Regions from separate parts of the Homo sapiens genome. Here regions 2, 3 and 4 are each linked to region 1. The links are contacts of gene promoters, found by promoter capture Hi-C in blood cells and fetal thymus (Javierre and others, 2016). All regions are on one chromosome and are shown on one strand. The core of a region is centred on a gene start or on the middle of the fragment in contact, and the rest is flanking DNA. Distances in the headings are between cores, read along the strand shown. Region 1 holds the start of TXNDC11 (thioredoxin domain containing 11). Region 2 overlaps LOC400499 (putative uncharacterized protein LOC400499). Region 3 overlaps RMI2 (RecQ mediated genome instability 2). Region 4 overlaps LOC105371082 (a long non-coding RNA gene).

Region 1 (2,700 bases), core at 25-2,524:
TTCCTTAGGAAGTCTTTCCCCACCGCCATCGTTTCTATGCCCTGCATAGCACTGAAGCTTTAAAAAATTATATTTACTTGTTCACTGTCCCATCCACTCAAGGGAGCAAAAAGTTCACCCGGACGAGCGTCCGGCACATAGTAGGTGCAGATAAATAATCGTTAGATCAGGCCGGGTGCGGGGCTCTCGCCTGTAATCCCAGCACTTTGGGAGGCCGAGACGGGTGGATCACGTGAGGTCAGGAGTTCGAGACCAGCCTGGCCAACGTGGTGAAACTCTGTCTCTACTAAAAATACAAAAATTAGCCAGGCGTGGTGGCGCGCGCCTGTAATCCGAGCTACTCAGGAGCTGAGGCAGAAGAACCCCTTGAACCCGGGAGGCGGAGGTTTCAGTGAGCCGAGATCGCGCCACTGCACTCCTGCCTGGGACACAATGCGTGACTCCGTCTCAAAATAAAAATAATCGTTAGATCAATGAGTGCGGGAATTCTAAAAGGGGTCTGGAACTCTCGCAAGGTTGTGGATCACTACACCTGAAGCTTAAGGGGAATGAAATCGGTGAGAAATGAGGGTCCTACAGCCCGGGCCGAAGTGACAGGTCCACCCCTAGTGACTCCAACAGGTGAGGAGCACCCCCGACCCGCCTCCCTCGGCACTAAAGCGGGACGATAGGGCGCAGGGCTCCACCCGGAAGCCTCGCCATAATGTCCGCGGGCGGGCCGGGGCGAGGAGAAGGTGGGAAGCCGTGGCCGCAGGTTCCGGGAGGGGTCAGCCGTCCTGGGCAAGGTCAGGCCCGACTTCCCCGGCTGAGGCCGCTGCGACCCGGCCCTGCAGGCTCCAGGCGGCAGAGCAAGGGGAGCGCCCTAGCGGGGCCCCAGGGTCCGGGCCGCCTCACCTGCAGGTGAACTTGAGGGCGAGGAGCAGCGCGCAGCCGAGCGCCACGGCCCCGCAGAGCAGCTCCGGCCGCTGGCGCGCCATGAGGAAGGCGCCACGCAGCCCGCGACGGAGCCGGCCCGCCGAGGACGCTGTGGCCAGGGTCGGGCTCGAGCTGAGGCAGTCTGAGCCCGCGGGGCCGCCGCCGCCCCCTCCCTCGTCCTCGGCGTCCTCGCTGCTGCTGCTGCCGCCGCCGCGGCCTCCGCATTCCGACATTACATGCTCCCAGTCGCCGGCTTTATACCGCCGCCGCCGCCTCGGGCCCGAAGGCCCGGCCCGGCCCGTTGCTCCCCAATCCCGCAGCTCGCCGCACCCGCTAACCCGGACGCTCCACGTCAGCCGCGCCGCCGCCGCGGGGTCCGCCCCACCTCACACCCCAGAGCACGCAGCTCCGCCCACCGCTCACGGAGTCCGGGCGGGCACCGACACCGCCCAAATCCCCGCCCCCAACGGGCCACGCCCTGCACCCTACGTAAATGCACGGAAGCCTTCCCCGCCCGCAGCCCAGTCTTGGCCCCACCGGTCACGACCCCGCTCACGGAGTCTGCGCAGGCGCCGTCGCGGGGCGTGGAGAAGCTGCTCCCTTGGGATAAGGCCCGCGGGGAATACTTGGAACCTTGACACCGCTGTAGTCTGCTCTCGCCGCGCTGGGTTTTAGGAGCCGTAACGACAATAATCGTGTCCACCATTCTCACTACAGGCCCCGAAGCACGTAGGTGCCGTTTTTTATCCCAACTTAACTGAAGAAAAAAAAAACACGGCCGGGCGCGGTGGCTCAAGCCTGTAATCCCAGCACGTTGGGAGGCCAAGGCGGGCAGATTACATGAGACCAGGCGTTCAAGACCAGCCTGGCCAACATGGTGAAACCTCGTCTCTACTAAAAATACAAATATATTAGCCGGGCGTGGTGGCGGGCGCCTGTAATCCTAGCTGCTTGGGAGGCTGAGGCAGAGAATTGCTTGAACCCTGGAGGCGGAGGTTGCAGTGAGTGGAGATGGCGCCACTGCACTCCCGTCTGGGGGAGAGAGAGAGAGAGACTCTTGTCTCAAAAAAAAAAAAAGGACTTGTCCTCCAATGTCAATAACAACAAACTAGACAAATAAAACTTCGAGGGCATTAAGGCAATATGGTGTTATGCCACAAACAGAAGGCACAGCTAACGGCCAGTAGCTGAGACGCCACCTCTGCCACAGGTCAGCTATGTGACCCACGTGCAAATCTCATCACTTCCTGTCTGGTTCTGCTTCTGTGGATGTAGAATGGGGCAATCAATGGCTGTCTTGCTCAATTGGCCAGACATTTAATGTGTCAACCACCCAGGCCCAACATGTTGTGAGTTCATGTACACCGACCATTTTGCTATTTCTTTTCTATATGTCACTTTTTTTTTTTTTTTGGTTGTTTTTTGATACAGGGTCTTGTGTCACCCAGGCTGGAGTGCAATGGCGCAATCATAGCACACTGAAGCCTTGACAACCCCAGCTCAAGCGATCCACCCCCGTCAGCCTCCCAAGTAGTAGGCAACACAGATGTGTGCGACTACGCCCAGCTAATTTTTTTTTTTTGTGGAGACAAGGTCTCTCCATGTTGCCTAGGCTGGTCTTGAACTCCTGGGCTCAAGCGATCTTCCCCCTTCGACCTCCCAAAGCGTTAGGATTATGTAAAAGCATGAGTCACTGCGCCCACCTGTCACATCTTTTTGTTTCTTCTATACTGCCTTATTTTGTAGAAAGTAGCTATTTTCTCGTATAACATTAATTCCTTTATT
Region 2 (2,700 bases), core at 22-2,521, 340 kb before region 1:
ACCTGGGTCCCCCAGCCCTCCTGCCTCGCCTCATCCCTTCTCCCCATTCCAGCCATGCTAGCCCCGCAGCTGCTGCTCCACATGCAAACCTCATTTCCAAGTGGGGCCTTCCGCCTGAAGTGCCTCTGCTCAGATCTGCCAGCTCCTTCTCATCCTTCAGAACTCAGTTCAGAAGTCACCTCCTCCAAGAGGCCTTCCCAGACCACCCCACCTAAAGGAGGCCCACACCCCACAAAGACCCTGCTTGCTCTCACAGCCTTTCCCACTCGTGGAAATGGTCATGCTTGACGTTATTTTGCTTATGTGCATCTTGTTGCTCAATGCCTGTCTCCCTGAGGGGTGACACCTGGGCCATCTTGCTTCCTGATGGACCCCTGGTGCCTAGATTACACCTGGGATATGCAGGTGCTCAGTCATGGCTTTTTTGAGACCGAGTCTCACTCTCGCTCAGGCTGGAATGCACTGGCTCAATCTCGGCTCTCTGCAACCTCTGCCTCCCAGGTTCAAGCGATTCTCCTGCCTCAGCCTCCCAAGTAGCTGAGATTGTAGGTGCCTGCCACCATGCCTGGCTAATTTTTGTATTTTTAGTAGAGATGGGGTTTCACCATGTTGGCCAGGCTGGTCTCAAACTCCTGACCTCGAGTGATCTACCCACCTCGGCCTCCCAAAGGGCTTGGATTACAGGCATGAGCCACCGCGCCTGGCCAGGGATGATTTCTTGAGTGACTGGGCCACCCCTGCCTGCAGCCCCTCACACACTCACCCTGCAGGCTGAGGTTCCTGGTGGGCTTGGGGAAAGGCCCAGAAAGGCTCCCGGTGAGGGCCACCTCCTGGCCATCCCACAGCACCACCTGGCGCAGGACACGGGTCCCATGAGCTCGCTCGTATGCGGTCTGCAGGAACAGCTCCCTGGGAAGAGCGCTGAGCTGGAAGAGAATGACGGCGTCATGGGGGAACCCGACCCATGCTTCTGCCTGGGATGGGAAAGAAGAGAAGCTTGCAGAGGAGGAAAAAGGGAATATTTGTGGATCATTTACAGTTTCCTGAATGGTGACATATGTCAGGGGATCAAAAACCCAAATGCTTCCTAAGGATGAGCAGATAATTTAAAGGAGAGGAGTAGGTGAGGGGAGTATGGCCAACAGGAGACAGCACAGAACAGCCACTTCTCAATTCCATGGCCAAGCTGTGTGGCTCTGGGCATTTTTCAACCTCTCTGAGCCTCAGTTTCCTAGAAAATGGAGGCCAGAAAGTGTCAACCTTTGCAAGATGATACAAGTGGTGCACTCAGCCCAGGGCTACACGGTGGAGAGGAGCTTGTAGGAGGCACGCAGTTGGTATTGCGGTTTCTCAATCATGTAGCGAGCAGGTATCATGCTCCCAAGCCAGTGCTGAGTGCCTGGGTACAAAGCTAGCCAAGACCTGGTCCTGGCCCTTAAGGGGCTCCCAGGGAGATAGTCGAGATAGTCACAGGACAGAAAATGATGGGATAAGGTGACAAGGATGGTCACAAGAGACATTCAAGGGAGAAAGGAACGCAGAGAAGCAAGCTTGGGGAGGAGGCAGGGAAGAGCATTCTAGGCAGATGGAAGAGCCTGTGCAAAGGTTCGGAGAGGGACGCCGTCCCTGCTGGTGGGTGCCACAGTCCGAGGGTGACTTGAGGGCACTGCAGGGGGACTGCTGGGGTGGGGAAGGAAGTTTGCTCTTAAACGTCTCTAAAACCTATCACTACTGCCCCCAGCTTGGTCCACGCATTATTATTGCCCTGCCCCTGCCCATTATGGGGCTTCCTCACTGCTCACTTCTGCCACCTGTAGGTCCCTCCCCACACAGCAGCCAGAGGGATCTGAAATCATCATTTATTTGATCATGGCTTCAAAGGCTTCTAGTAGCAGATAGAACACAATGCAAACGCCTCCCTGTGGCCTGACTGACCCTGTGTGATCAGACCACCTCCTACCATTCCCCACCCACCCAGCTCCAGCCCAGTGGCTCCTTGGCCATTCCTAAAACATGCAAACCCATCCCTGCCCCAGGCCCTTTGCATGTCTTGTTCCCTCTGCCTGGAATACTCTTTTTAAAAAATGTATTTTAGATTGAGGGGGTCAGTGTGCATGTTTGTTACATAGGTATATTGTGTAATGGTGGGGACTGGGCTTCCAGCGTCCCTGTCACCCAAATATCGAACATCATACCAGGCAGGTAATTTTCCAACCCTTGGCTCCCTCTCACCCTCCTCCCTTTTGGAGCCCTCAGTGTTTACTGTTTCCATCTTTATGTCCATGTGTATTCAATGTTTAGCTCCTGCTTACAAGTGAGAACATGTGATACTGGGTTTTCTGTTTCTGAGCTAGTTCACTTAGGATAATTGCATCCCTGCTGCTGCAAAGGACAGAATTTCATTCTTTTTTCCGGCTGTGTAATATTCCATGGTGTATATATACCACAGTCTCTTTACCTGCCTCGAATGCCCCTCCCCCAGAGATTTCTTTTTTCTTTTCTTCCTTTTGAGATGGAGTTTCACTCTTGTCACCCAGGCCGCAGTGCAACGGCGCAATCTCGGCTCACTGCAACCTCCACATCCTGGGTTCAAGCAATTCTCCTGCCTCAGCCTCCAAAGTAGCTGGGATTATAGGCATGTGCCACCACGCCTGGCTAATTCCATATTTTTAGTAGAGACGGGGTTTCCCCATGTTGGCC
Region 3 (2,700 bases), core at 1-2,500, 390 kb before region 1:
TCAGAGAGCCTTGCTTTGGTTGACCAAGGAGTCCGGATGTAGGAATGTTTAAATCCTCGGATACTTCAGTGACACAGCCTCTGCTGCCCCTTGCTTTGCCTGTGTTTGCTGATGAAAAGCAGATGCTTGTGTTTCATTTTCCTTCCTGGTTTGTGTGTGTTAATTCTCTCTCTCTCTCTCAGACACAGAAGTCTCATGTTGCATTTTCCAAATTTTATGAGTGATGATACTTTTTCCATTACTGCTGCGTCCCTGTTTTACAATGCAAAATTTAAGTACGGTCGTTGCCCATGGTGATTAAAGTGTGGTTATGGGCAGGAAGACAGACTGTGTAAAAAAGGAATGACATCCTGGCTCCTCATCTTCTTCATCAGCAACTACCATAACCAGTTTGCGAGTCAAATGGCATTTCCTAACGGCAGGCATGGCGGCCCCTGAAAGACAACAGCTCCCTTTCTGCTTCGGACACCACTCAAACATTTAGACGCAGCTCTATCCCTTTTCCTAGCTAGAGAAGGTGATGCCTTCTTCCATTACTCAGAGATGTTGAGACGTTTTCAGAATTTCTTGTTGAAATGAAAAACATCAAGATAAAGGACGCCTTTCAGGCATTAGCTAAACTTCCACTTCATAACTTTCGGCGAGACATGGTGAGCCTCCTGGTGTAGAGTTCTTTTGTCTTTGTATGGAATGACTTTTTGCTGTGATGGTTTTGAATGTTGGGTTTCTGCTGTCTGCTTAGTACCCATGCCTGAATTTTTTGAGATTGTAAATATCAAAGGAGTTAGATTGTGTTCTGACATGGTTGTAGACTTTCACCTGGATTATTGATATTCTACCTCTAATAAATTTTTAATAGGCTGTATGAGTTTTTTTTTTTAATGGACTTAAGAAAACAGTTTTAGGTGTTCAGGAAAATAGAGGAGAAACTACAGCGTTCGCATATACTCCACACACCCCACTCCCAGTTTTTCCAGCTATGAACATCTTTTATTAGGATGGTACATTTGATAAACCAACATTACATTCTTATTAACTAAAGTTTAGTTTACATTAGGCTTTATTCCTTCTCTTATACATTCTGTGGATTTTGCCAAATGCATAATAACATGTATCCACCACTACAGTATCGTCCAGAATAGCTTCACTGCCCTAAAAATCCTCTGGGTTCCCCTTATTCACCCCTCCCCACCAACCCTGACAGTCACTGATCTTTCTTTTCAGTTTTGCCTTTTCCAGAATATCATATAGTTGGATCATACAGTAAGTAATTTTTTCAGACTGGCTTCTTTCATTTACTATGCATATAAGATTCCTCCATATCTTTTTTTTTTTTTCTTTTTTAAGACAATCTCAGTCTTGCCCAGGCTGGAGTGCAAGGGCACAATCACAGCTCACCACAGCCTCAACCTCTCAGGCTCAGGATCCTCCCATCTCAGCCTCTCAGGTAGCAGGACTACAGGTGCGCATCACCTTGCCTGGTTAATTTTTTTGTATTTTTTGTAGAGACAAGGTTTTGCCATGTTGCCCAGGCTGGTCTCAAACTCCTGGGCTCAAGCAATCTTCCCATCTTGGCCTCCCAAAGTGCTGGGATTACAGGTGTGAGCCATTGTGTCTGGACTCCTCCAGGTCTTTTTGCAGCTTGTTAGCTTTTTTTTTTTTTTTTTTTTTTCAATAAATGCCCGTGCTTATTACAAGATAGAAACATGAAGAATTCCTTAGGTACTGTTTTTTTTTTTTTTTTTTTTTTTGAGACAGAGTCTAACCCTGTCACCCAGGCTGGAGTGCAGTGGTGTGATCTCTGCTCACTGCAACCTCTGCCTCCCGGGTTCAAGCGATTCTCCCGCCTCAGCCTCCTGAGTAGCTGGGATTACAGATGTGTGCCACCACACCCAGCTAATTTATTTATTTATTTATTTTGAGTTTTTTATTTTTGTTTGTTTGTTTAAGATGGGGCCTTGCCCTGTCACCCAGGCTGGCGTACAGTGGCGTGAACGTGGCTTACTGCAGCCTCAACCTCCCAAACTCAAGCAATCCTCCCATGTCATCCTCCTGAGTAGCTGGTACTACAGGCACAAATTCCTCGGCTCAAGCAATCCTCCCACCTTGGCCTCCCAAAGTGCTGGGATTACAGGTATGAGCCACCACGCCCAGCCAGCTCATTTCTTTTTATCACTGAATAATGTTCCATTGTATGGATGTACCATAGTTTTATCTAATCCACCTATTGAAGGACATCTTGACTCCAGTCTCTGATAACTATGAATAGAGCTGCTGTAAACATTCATGCCCAGGTTTTGAGTGGGTGTAAGTTTTCAGCTCATTGGGGTAAATGCCTAGGAGTGCAATTGCTGGGCCATATGGTAGACCTATGGTTAGCCTTGTAGAAACTGCCAGTCTGCTTTTGCATTCTCACCAGCAATGAAGGGGAGTCACTGTTCCACATCGTCTCCAGCACTGAGTGTTGTCAGTGTCTCGGGTGTGCTGTGCTTTTAAACTATTTTCTTTTTAAAGCCGGGCAGATTGGAAAGTATGCATCATTTTTGTTGCCCACAAGAAGCTTGTTTTGAACTGTTTTATGTTCACAGTTTGGGATTTTTCGGGCAATATTGCTGAGCTTTAACAGGAACTTTGCAGTCCTGTCAACCTGAATTTGAGCCCTTCATTTGCAAGTAACCTTGCCGTGTGACTATGAGCAAG
Region 4 (2,853 bases), core at 25-2,524, 370 kb before region 1:
CAAATGGGATGTTTTCTTCTGTTAACTTTTCTAACTGCTTGTTTGTACATAGGAGGACTGAGGCCAGCCTTGGTGGCTCACATCTATAATCCTAGCACTTAGGGAGACTGAGGCAGAAGGACTGCTCGAGCCCAGGAGTTTGAGACCAGCCTGGGCATCATAGTAAGACCGCATCTTTATGTTATTTTTTTTTTGAGACAGGGTCTTTCTTTGTCACCCAGGCTAAGTGCAGTAATGCAGTCCCGGTTCACTGCAACCTCCATGTCCTGGGTTCAAGCAATTCTCATGCCTCAGCCTTCTGAGTACCCGGTATTACAGGTGTGTGCCATCACACCCAGCTAATTTTTGTATTATTAGTAGAGGTGGAGTTTTGCCATGTTGGCCAGGCTGGTACCGAACTCCTGGCCTCGAGCAATCCGCCTCTCTCGGCCTCCCAAAGTGCTGGGATTACAGGCGTGAGCTGTGCCCGGCCCCATCTCTATATTTTAAAAATTAAGAAAAAGGAAGGCTGCTTATTATGTTACTTTTGTACCTAACTCCTTAGCAAAATCTGTCTGCCTCATTTTTCAGAGTAAATTATTTTACCTCCTGCTTTTTTCTTAAATGTCTTACTTTCCTCCTTGCCTAGTTTCATCAGCTAGGGCCTCCAAAATAATAGTGGTAACAGAGGGCATTCTTTTGTTGCGAAGGTTAATGGAAGCTTCTGTTGCTTCCATCCCCTATAAATGATGCTGGGCTCTGGCTTGATGGGTGTGTGTCTGGGTGTAATTTCCTTTATCGTGTGTAATTTAAGGAAGTATCCCTCTTTCTAATTTGATGTGTTTTTTTCTAAATTTTGTAGTAAATTTTGTCAAATGCCTTTTCAACATCTACGATGATTATGATTTTTAACATATTAATATGAATGAAATTAGGCTGGGCGCAGTGGCTCACACCTGTAATCCCAGCACTTTGGGAGGCTGAGGCAGGCAGATCACAAGGTCAGGAGGTCAAGACCATCCTGGCTAACATGGTGAAACCCCATCTCTTCTAAAAATACAAAAAAGCTAGTCAGGTGTGGTGGCGGACGCCTGTAGTCCCGGGAGGGTGAGGCAGGAGAACTGAGTGAACCCAGGAAGCGGAGCTTGCAGTGAGCCTAGATCGCACCACTGCACTCCAGCCTGGGCAATAGAGCGAGACTCCATCTCAGGAAAAAAAAAAAAAAAAAAAAAATATGTGTGTATATATATATATATATATATATATATATATATATTTGAAATTAAAAGATGTTCTAATTTTGAGCTATCCTTGTCACACTGTACAATTCTCACTTGGTTTAGGTCACTTTTTTTTTAAGGCCCCAGTGGGGTTTGTTTGGTAATATTTTATTTTGGATTTTCTTACCTTGATTTGTATGTAAACATCTTACCTTGTTTTGTTTTGGAGATAGGGCCTTGCTCTGATGCCCAGGCTGGAGTGCAGTGGTGTGATCATAGTTGATTGTGATTTTGAACTCCTGGGCTCAAGTGATCCTCCTGCCTCAGCCTCCTAGACAGGCATGTGCCACCATGCCTGGCTAATGATTAAATTTTTTTAGAGACAGAGTCTTGCTATGTTGTCCAGGCTGGAGTTCAGTGTATATTGTAGACGTGAATTGGTCTTTCCGCTGGAATCATTCCCTCTCCTATCTGTTTCAAATTCATGCATAAGTACTCCACCCACACCCCCCAGTTGGAAAGTATTGATGTTGTCCAACCTGCCTTGAGAAGGGAGAACTATGTTTCCCTCTTTGTATCTCTGCTGGTGTCCAGTCCACTGCTGTGTTTTTGGTAAATACTTGACCCATAGAATGTGGGAGGCAGGAAGGAAAGCTTCTGCGTTTCCTTTCTGGACCAGAAATCATGGATCCGTTAAGCATATTGAGAAACCAACAGGTCAGGTGGCTGCACACTCTAGTTGCATCTGACTCTGAATTGCTCATGGGCCCCTGAGCACCAGTGATTTGCTTTTCTTTTATTGCAAAAGCAGAAGTGGGGGTTGAGTGAGCTTGGGCAGCCTTGGGAGGCAGGCAGGCCCGCGTCAGTGCCATCCTGGCTGTTTGTAGCTTGTATGACCTTGGGGAAATCCCCTCAACTCTCTGAGCCTTTGTTTCTTCTCTCATTAAGTGGGGATCATCCGTTCCTCATTGGACTATTGTAAGGCCTAAGATCAAACTTTTTTTTTTTTTTTTTTTTTGAGATGGAGCCTTCGCTCTGTCGCCCAGGCTACAGTGCAGTGGCACGATCTCCGCTCACTGCAAGCTCCACCTCCCGTGTTCACGCCATTCTCCTGCCCCAACCTCCCAAGTAGCTGGGACTACAGGAGCCCGCCACCTCACTCGGCTAATTTTTTGTATGTTTAGTAGAGACGGGGTTTCACCGTGTTAGCCAAGATGGTCTCGATTTGCTGACCTCATGATCCACCCACCTTGGCCTCCCAAAGTGCTGGGATTACAGGCGTGACCCACTGTGCCCGACCCAAACTTTTTTTTTTTTTTTTTGAGACGGAGTCTCACTCTGTCGCCAGGCTGGAGTGCAGTGGTGTGATCTTGGCTCACTGCAGTCTCCGCCTCCTGGGTTCAAGCAGTTCTCTGCCTCAGCCTCCTGGGTAGCTGGGATTACAGGCGCCAGCCACCATGCCCGGATTTTTTTTTTTTTTTTTTTTTTTTCCAGTAGAGATGAGGTTTCACCGTGTTGGCCAGGCTGGTCTTGAATTCCTGACCTCATGATCCACCCGCCTCGGCCTCCCAAAGTGCTGGGATTACAGGCGTGAGCCACTGCACCCAGCCCCCAGATCAAACATCTTTCAAGGCACTTGGAGCAGTGCCTGGTC

The links. Contacts are between HindIII fragments. The CHiCAGO score rates a contact against its expected background, and 5 or more counts as called.
Region 2: a contact is called between a fragment that was not itself captured here and the fragment with the promoter of TXNDC11 in region 1, in 5 of 17 cell types (naive CD4 T cells, naive CD8 T cells, monocytes and 2 more). The highest score is 6.4, in naive CD4 T cells.
Region 3: a contact is called between a fragment that was not itself captured here and the fragment with the promoter of TXNDC11 in region 1, in 1 of 17 cell types (monocytes). The highest score is 5.5, in monocytes.
Region 4: a fragment that was not itself captured here is called in contact with the fragment with the promoter of TXNDC11 in region 1 in 1 of 17 cell types (activated CD4 T cells); the score reaches 5.1 in activated CD4 T cells.

Annotation. Positions count from the first base shown.
Region 1 is chr16:11,741,583-11,744,282 of GRCh38, forward strand. It overlaps TXNDC11 (thioredoxin domain containing 11), which reads right to left and starts at 1,275. Exons shown (of 12, transcript NM_015914.7): 1 at 895-1,275. The coding sequence starts at 1,148. It overlaps TXNDC11-AS1 (TXNDC11 antisense RNA 1), which reads left to right and starts at 1,432. Exons shown (of 1, transcript NR_186412.1): 1 at 1,432-2,700. RefSeq lists silencers at 723-1,392, 1,255-1,777. The HindIII fragment of the contact is 4,507 bases long and covers 537-2,700 here.
Region 2 is chr16:11,403,941-11,406,640 of GRCh38, forward strand. LOC400499 (putative uncharacterized protein LOC400499) reads right to left here. Exons shown (of 67, transcript NM_001370704.1): 48 at 764-926. Among named protein-coding and RNA genes, the nearest start is that of RMI2, 60 kb to the left of the region's middle. The HindIII fragment of the contact is 554 bases long and covers 995-1,548 here.
Region 3 is chr16:11,350,900-11,353,599 of GRCh38, forward strand. RMI2 (RecQ mediated genome instability 2) reads left to right here. Exons shown (of 2, transcript NM_152308.3): 2 at 1-861. All of the region lies in intron 1 of LOC105371082 (a long non-coding RNA gene), which reads left to right. Among named protein-coding and RNA genes, the nearest start is that of RMI2, 6.8 kb to the left of the region's middle. The HindIII fragment of the contact is 2,616 bases long and covers 1-2,558 here.
Region 4 is chr16:11,368,759-11,371,611 of GRCh38, forward strand. The region is part of intron 1 of LOC105371082 (a long non-coding RNA gene); the gene reads left to right. Among named protein-coding and RNA genes, the nearest start is that of RMI2, 25 kb to the left of the region's middle. RefSeq lists enhancers at 1,722-1,781, 1,967-2,467. The HindIII fragment of the contact is 1,153 bases long and covers 699-1,851 here.